Linked DNA regions of Homo sapiens: region 2 is linked to region 1. Evidence: promoter capture Hi-C in human tissues and cell types (Jung and others, 2019). All regions are on one chromosome and are shown on one strand. Each heading gives the region's core, a stretch centred on a gene start or on the middle of the fragment in contact. The rest is flanking DNA. Distances are from core to core; before and after follow the strand shown. Region 1 holds the start of IRX2 (iroquois homeobox 2). Region 2 has its middle 61 kb from the start of LINC01377.

Region 1 (3,983 bases), core at 618-3,117:
GGGTGTGTGTGCGTGTGCGTGTGTTGAGATGGCCTGAAGAGGATGTGTGCAGGATGGGGGTGTGGTTTGTAGGAAGAGTGGTGGGGGAGCAGTGTGGGCGAAGGGGTGGGTGGGATAACTGGTAGGGGGCGAGTGGCTCGGCTCGGGAGCTCCTGGCGGGAGGGGTAACGTGCCTGGACCGCGCCTACCGGGAGCCTGCCGGCTCAGGAGGAGCCATCCTCAAGCACAGCACTGCAGTTTGCAACTGGTTCCCTTGCACCTGGGGAAAGACAGCCTGATGCCGTGAGTGTTTCTCTTGCGCCCTGGACCAGACTGGCAACCCGGGCTCCGCTCCCTCCGCGCCGCTGCAGCCGCACCACAGGGAGGCCGCAACATGCCCTGCGTCCTGAGATCACTAAGGCTGCTCCGCAGGCTGCAGGGCCAGCAGGGGTGCAGGAGTCGGCTGCAGGCCTGAGCTGAGGCCCGCCCCAGGCCACTGCGCTCTCTCTTCTCCACCGCACCCACCCGAGACGGCTTCCGAGGATAGAGGCACCTGCTGGGTGGGTGCTCCCAATAGGCCAGCACAGACCTGACACTCTTCCATCCCCCTGAGCGCCCCCCATAGGTGACCCTTCGGAGTGGGCAGCCAGACGCCCTCTTCGGCCATCCCCGAGTGGAAAAGGGTTGGAGAAGCGTGATGGGGAGAGGGTTCTAGGAAGCTGGGGTCCTAGGAACCCTCGCCAACCGCCTCGCTTCTGAGCCCCGCAAGGCAACCGCCCCCCTACTCCAGCCGCGCGTCACCTGAGCTACCTGTAATGCCCACTGCACCGGCGGCGCCAACCTGAGCTCCTGCCCGTTCTCGACGTGACTGGGAGGCTTCAGGTCCTGCCAGAGGCGGTTTGTCAGGTAACAATCATCCCCCCAGTGTTTTGACAACACAAATCTGAAAGAGGAGTCAACTTAGAAAAACAAAATAAAATAAAACTCTTTAGGGGACGGCGTCTTCTTAGCTGAAGCCCTGGCGTCATTCCCAACAGTGGAAAGTCGTAACGTTCAGGGCCCCGGGGGTTGCGCTGCGGATTTGGGGGCAGAAAGCTCACCTCAGGGCCCTCCTGGCAATTCGCAACCAAGGCGCCCCGGATCCAGGTCCATGCTGGGCGGAGTGGACCGCGAGGGGTAGGCGACCAGACGCGAGGCCACGCGGGGAGCCTCGGGCCAGGAGGCAGAGCAGGTCCGGGACCGTGGAAGTGAGAGCCGCGCGCACTGCCCGGAGGAAGACCCGAGCCGCGGGCGCCACCATCCTGACCTCCCCACTTCCCTGCGACTTCCGGATTGGACACAGGGGCCGGGCCTCCTCGGGGTGCACAGCGGGGCAGGCTGTGAGTCCCCTAATTGGACCCGGCCTGGCCTGACCGCGGGCGGCCTCTGCCTAGTCCGTGAGGGTGGAGAAGGGGGTGGGGGCGGGGTAGTGGCTGGAAGGGGCGGGGGCCGGGCAGGGGCGAAGACGGTGGCCGGGGACGGTGGGAGCCGGCCGGAGCCGGGCAGGGGACGTGGCTCCGAGTGGATGGGAGTGGGAGGGGTGCGCGCCGGGGCACGCAGCGCGGCCGGGCTGGGCTGCAGGTCCGCGAGCCGCGGGCTGGGGCCGGAGCTGCTAGAGAGGCGGCTGCGCCACAAAAGCCTGCCGGTCCCTCCCGCCGCCCGCCTCCGTCGCCTCCGCCCTCCCCCGCCTCCCTCCCGTCTCTCTGCCCCTCCCCCGGCCGCGGCCCGGAGGCTGCAGCGGGCGGAGCAGGGGAGGGGCGGGCCCCCGAATATGCAGATGAGCGCGTGATGGACAGCTGCGCGTTCCAATGTCCCTCGGAAACTCGAGCGCTCCTTCCTCAACTCCTCACTCCCGACTCCAGACTCCCCCAAACCCCGACCGCCGGCCTGGCGCGCGGCTGCGCCCACCGGCTCCGCGCTGCTGCCGCCGCCACCGCCACCCCGCCGCCGCCCCGGCCCGCGGGCCGCCCAGGCTAGTACCCGGGCCGGCCTGCCTCCGCCGGCCGTCCGGGTGCCCGCCGCCGCGCCGCGCCCCGGCCGGGCGTGGATGGAGGGCGCCGCGCGCCCTGCCCGCTGCTCGGCGTGACGCGGGCCCCGCGCCCCGCGCCCACCATGTCCTACCCGCAGGGCTACCTGTACCAGGCGCCCGGCTCGCTGGCGCTCTACTCGTGCCCGGCCTACGGCGCGTCGGCTTTGGCGGCTCCGCGCAGCGAGGAGCTGGCGCGCTCGGCGTCGGGCTCGGCGTTCAGCCCCTACCCGGGCTCGGCGGCCTTCACGGCGCAGGCGGCCACCGGCTTCGGGAGCCCGCTGCAGTACTCGGCCGACGCCGCCGCCGCCGCCGCCGGCTTCCCGTCCTACATGGTAACCGGGCGCGGGCGGGACGCGGGACTCCTGGGCGCCGGGACCCAGACGGGGCTCAGGCGGAGCGGGGCTCGGGTTCGGCGGGCGGGGGCCGCCGGGAATGTGGCGCGGCTGGCGACTCAGGAGTCGCCGGCTCGGTTGGCCGCCCCGCAGGCTGAGCCGGGCCCCGGGTGGGGAGGGCAGCGCGGCAGGCGGGGACGTCCCTGAGCCCGGCCGGGACCCGCGCGCCCCCCGCGCGTCCCCTCGGCTCGCCGGCTGATTTTCTCTGAGAGCCTGGGAAGTGCGTCTCCGCCGGGGCCGGGGTCTGGCGCCGTTTGTCCCTGGTTTCCGCACCGCAGCCTGGGGAGGCGTTCGGAGCGGGCTGTGTGCTCGCCTGCATTGGCGTGGGGCGCGAGGGTCCGCGTCACTGCGGCCTCTGAGCCGACGGCCGGGCGGTTCGCATTCACTCGCGGGGCTCAGGGCGGTGGGGGTCACCGAGTTAGGCCCAGGAGCCGAGCATTCAGCTGCGGCTCCGGAGTCCGGCCCGAGGCGCCCAGGTTTCGGCCTTACTCTGTCCAGCGGACCATGCTTTCAAATATCGTGCTTGCGGGCGCGTGACCCGCTAAGGGCCGCCTGAGTCCTCCGTGGCCCGAGCGCAGCTCCTGCTCCGGCGACCTGGGGGCGGCTCGCGAGTCTCGAGGTTACTGAGCTGGGCCAGGCCCGGGCCGCGGCGAAGCACGTTACGGGCGATTGAGGCCATTACGGGGTTGTCGCGACTGCCGGCCCTCGGCGGAATTTCTGGGCAGCGACCGAGTCGCTGGGGCCTTGGCGAAGGCTGCAAATGCCTCGAATTTAAACGTTAAAGGATGAATTAAAATGCTAATTACGGCGTATTTGAAGAATTCGAAACGGTGACTGGCTTCTGAGTTGCAAATTGGATTTGCCCAGCTTTAGAGCAGTGAATAGTGAATTGGGGGCTCTGGGGTGTTTTTTTAACCATATAAGGGAGGGGAAGAGGGAGTAGGGGGAGGCAGCCGCACTCCAAGCATCTGCAGAAATTTAGATATCAAAGAGCTACCTGTGGGCCTGTGTGCGCGCACGTGCAAGGGTTTGTGTACATTGCCACGAGCGGCTCCGGAACACTTAGGGGAAGATGGGTCATTTTAGGAAAGTGAAATAGTTCAGAAATTCGAGAATAAAACTCCGGTACTTTTTGTGATCAACAGCTGGTCCCGAATCACACTGCGTTTTTCCTGCTCTTTTGCGGCGGGAAGCGCAGCCCCAGAGCCAGACTCACGGGGGGAACGGTGGCCGTGGGCGGGCGGAGGGGTGGCATCCTCTGGCTGGTTGCCCGCGGGGTCTCCGCATACTCCACTCACAGGCTCTTGTTGGTTCCAGGGCGCACCCTACGACGCGCACACCACCGGCATGACCGGCGCCATCAGCTACCACCCGTACGGCAGCGCGGCCTACCCGTACCAGCTCAACGACCCCGCGTACCGCAAGAACGCCACGCGGGACGCCACGGCCACTCTCAAGGCCTGGCTCAACGAGCACCGCAAGAACCCCTACCCCACCAAGGGCGAGAAGATCATGCTAGCCATCATCACCAAGATGACCCTCAC
Region 2 (3,983 bases), core at 439-2,938, 370 kb before region 1:
TCTGGTTTCAAGAGAGTAAGCCCTGAGTTTCTAAACATTATGAAAACAACCAGATCTCAGAGACATTATATCCACAACAAAGGGAAATGAGTGACCAGCCCAGTTGCATTGTCTTTTGAACAACAAGTCAATGCAGACAGAAGTAAATGACAGTTAATTACAAATTACGTTCTGGTTGGGGCTGCGCGGGCCTCTCGCCCGGCGTAGCGCTCAGGCCCCGGGGCGCTCACCTGCCTGCCGAGGGCCTTGCGGAGACCTGGGTTGGGGTGCCGCACAGCCTTCAAAACAAGCTGCTAAACACAAAAGCTTATTGGATTACAGAGATTTAGGAAAAGACATTCAGATCTCTCCGGGCAACTGCAGAAGGAGGGTGGAGGGGGTGCTGGAGGACGGATCACTGCAACTTTTTGAATGCTGGTCTCTCTTTGCAGGGAAATTGGCCCCGTTGTTTGGCAGTGTTGGGAAACTGGTCCTACCATGGGCAAGCTCCCTTTAGGAAGCACAGCAGTGCTGGGGGCCCATTATAACTTGGCCACCTAACTGCTTTTCAAACAGGGAAAAGTAGACAGTGCTGATGCTATGTTAGATTCGTAATCACATGAATCATGAATTCGGTGATGCACTCAGACTGTTTATTTTTTATCGGGAGGATTGTCATCGCCATCAGCAGACATTTTGATTTACTAAGAATGTTTCACATTTTTAATTGGAACAGTAAATGAATTTATTACATTTTAAGTCAAATTTTAAGTTAATACATTTGCAAAAATAAGACAATGTCGAAAATAATTAATGTCATCATTGGTGCATTAAAAAGACCTTGGCTTTTGTAATTCACTAAAGCAATTTCTATTCATTTAGTTGAGCTAAATGCTTATTGTTAAAGACAAAAGATCCAACAGCTTGACATTGAGCTCATTATGTATGTTAGAAACACTCAGAAACCCAAGGCCACACTACACGCCACACAGCCAAAGACTTGGGGGCGGGGAGCGTTTCCAGGGATTAAAATGCAGACCACGCCATTCTCAATCACTTTCCATTTAGACCTGATTAAAACTTCAAAACGAAGCTTGTTGGAAACATTGGTAGAACAATTTTTGTTGTTGTCTTTAAGTGATGGGGTAATCAGTAAACTCTGGGGAAGTTTAATGGGTCTCTCTCTCTCCCTCTCTCTCTCTCTCTCTCTCTCTCTCTCTCTCTCTCTCTCTCTCTCTCTCTCTCTCGCTCCCTCTCTCTGATAGCTCTAACAGCCCAGATCTCACTCCTTACTCCCAGCTGACTTGCAAAAATATTTGAATTTTTAAAGAAAGCATTCAGAAGCACATGCTGAAAACTGTATCTTTTGGAAGTGCAGCGACGTGCAGAAAATAAACATTCCTCCTTCCCTTAGACAGCATTGATGATGCAGAATGACAGGGACTTACTAGTGTGATGTTGGCATCTCCAGCCCTAGGAGGTGGCTCTCCACTGCATTTTCCACACTATCCCTACACTCAGCCACGGCATAGGCTCCTGTTAACACAGCCATCACAAGAAGTTCCCTTTTGTATGTAGGGAATAAGACATCCTTATTGCACTCCACATTTGGGGGGGGATCAATTACCCTGCCCTCTCCCTGACAGTGTCATAGGTGAGACAAACACTGTAGTTTGCACATGAGTCTCAACACGATAAAAGTTAGATTCAATCCTGCTGAGATAACTTCAATGCTTTCCCCTGCTGCTCATTCTAAAAGAATGCCTGGCTGTTTTGATCACCGAACAAAACAAATGAAGCAATTTTCAAGATACCGTCCAGAATGAGTGTGTGAGCATATTTAAGGTTTCATAAATACCTCCAAAAGGCTACACTCTAAAAGTTTTACCTCCACGCTTCAAAATTTGAAAGGCTGCCTTTTAGAAGTGTTGGTGTTTTCCAATAAAATGCACAGATAGTATATTTCCAGTCTAAAGGACTGAAATTAATTTATGGAGTGATAGGAGTCTTCTGCCTCCTGGATGTGCGATCAGAGTGAGACATCTCAAATCCTGCTGAAAGGACACCTGTAAGAGCTCTTTCCCTAAAATTAGGTAGAAAAATATCTGCCTTCTCCGTGCTTAGGGGAGTGGCCTTCTTATCGGCGGTGGAGTGAAGCTGACTGTAATGACAGTGACAGGCGAGATCCATCGTGTCATCGGCACTGTGAGGGATGGGGCCCAGTCCCGCCCGCCTGCGGATGCTAGTGGAACCCCCAGCCAGGAGGCAGGGAGTACTTAACCCTGCAAGCCCCGGGTTCCCGCTGTGCGTCACCAGGCCTCTGTCTTGTGTGGGAAGCCTACAGGATGACAGCAAATCTATACGGGCCGCGCAATCTGCCCTCGCGACAAGCTCGCGCCAGGCCGCCTTATAACACGATTAAATGGTATCATAAGGGCAGGGCATGCCTTGTGGAGCCATCACAAGAGTTTTGGGGAGACTGTGGCTGCCGTAGGTGCGGGCAGTGCAGGGGGAAGCAGGGAGCACCGTGGACCGGACCAGAGGACTTCTCCGGGGCAGTGACCCCCCACCAGAAGCCTCTAGTTTCCTATGCCAGGGCGATGGCTTTCAGGCTGTCTGCAGTCGGGACAGATTATGTTTGCCCCTATACTGCAAGTTCACTTTGATATGCCTGTGAACATATATGAGATATATATGTGATTATATATATATGAACATGAGGACCAATTTTGAAGATGTCTTCATACATCCTTAGTAGACAAATCGGTGAGATGCAGTAGGGTTGGGAAATGCTATTGAATGCTATGTAGCATGTTTTTCCCGTCCTGGAGAAAAACCTAAATTATGTAAATGGCAGAGATAATAATATGGTAGATGGCATTTTAGGATGCAATCTTGAACTCCTAAGATGTCAAGTGTCTGATTGTGATCTCGGTGCACACACATGTAAAGTGGCATTTCTCCCGCTATTGTGCACTCATATTTCTAGGAGGACTGTTACATTTACAACATGAAATTTAAAAGTTAAAAAAAAAAAGAATGTAAGAGCTTCACGTAAGGCTTTTTCTAGATTGTGTTTTTGTAGTATTTCTGCCTTCTCTTTTGTTAAGTCACAACAAGCTTTTCTTGGGTTAAAAAGAGAGGAAAAAAGCCAATTGAATAGTAATATGGTTCTTTCATGTATATGCAAGAAAAAGATCTTTTCACACCTTGATGAAATTAGCATAAATTTAAATACTAATGAATTGCCAGTGACTGGTTAAGAATACCAAGGACCACAGTCACACAAAGTTAGACATCCCTAGGAAACAGCTCTGATTCTAGGGGTATGTGGCCTGATCCGGGCATGATTTTTCCACACACACAGTCCTAGACAGGTCAGGATGGCAGGGGAATCGTTAACTCTTCATCAGGGAAAAGTTTCCTCAAAATGGAAAAATTGAGACTGAGTGATAGTTAAAAAGCTCCAGGCCTGGGAGTCCGAGACGGGTGGATCACGAGGTCAGGAGATCGAGACCATCCTGGCTAACACGGTGAAACCCCGTCTCTACTAAAAATACAAAAAATTAGCTGGGCATGGTGGTGGGCGCCTGTAGTCCCAGCTACTCGGGAGGCTGAGGCAGGAGAATGGCGTGAACCAGGAAGGCGGAGCTTGCAGTGAGCCCAGATAGCGCCACTGCACTCCAGCCTGGGCGACAGAGCCAGACTCCGTCTCAAAAAAAAAAAAAAAAAAAAAAGCTTTGGGCCTTGAGTAGCTGGCCCTTGCAAGGGGATTGCTAGAGACATTTTGGTGGCTGCCACGTTGTTTTGTGGTGGGTTTGTTTGGTACAGGACTGGGCTGAGGAATTATTTGCATGGGTATCTCAGAGCAGCATGGAAGGTTACTCTAAAGCTCTGAAGACACTTCTGCAAGGTAGTATCCAATATGACAGAGACCAGCCAGAAAATATGAATTGTGTGCCTTGATGCTTGGCGTCAAATCAAGTTTAGGCTAAAGCTGCCTC

What was found. Contacts are between HindIII fragments. The study calls those that stand out against the background at their distance.
Region 2: a contact is called between a fragment that was not itself captured here and the fragment with the promoter of IRX2 in region 1, in 1 of the 25 tissues and cell types used here (H1 embryonic stem cells).

What each region holds. Positions count from the first base shown.
Region 1 is chr5:2,749,561-2,753,543 of GRCh38, reverse strand. IRX2 (iroquois homeobox 2) reads left to right here and starts at 1,867. Exons shown (of 4, transcript NM_033267.5): 1 at 1,867-2,379; 2 at 3,757-3,983. The coding sequence starts at 2,131. IRX2-DT (IRX2 divergent transcript) reads right to left here and starts at 1,651. Exons shown (of 4, transcript NR_122126.2): 1 at 1,080-1,651; 2 at 790-864; 3 at 189-259. RefSeq lists enhancers at 828-1,752, 3,838-3,983. The HindIII fragment of the contact is 21,259 bases long and covers 1-3,983 here.
Region 2 is chr5:3,114,874-3,118,856 of GRCh38, reverse strand. No RefSeq gene overlaps it. Among named protein-coding and RNA genes, the nearest start is that of LINC01377, 61 kb to the left of the region's middle. The HindIII fragment of the contact is 3,440 bases long and covers 1-3,408 here.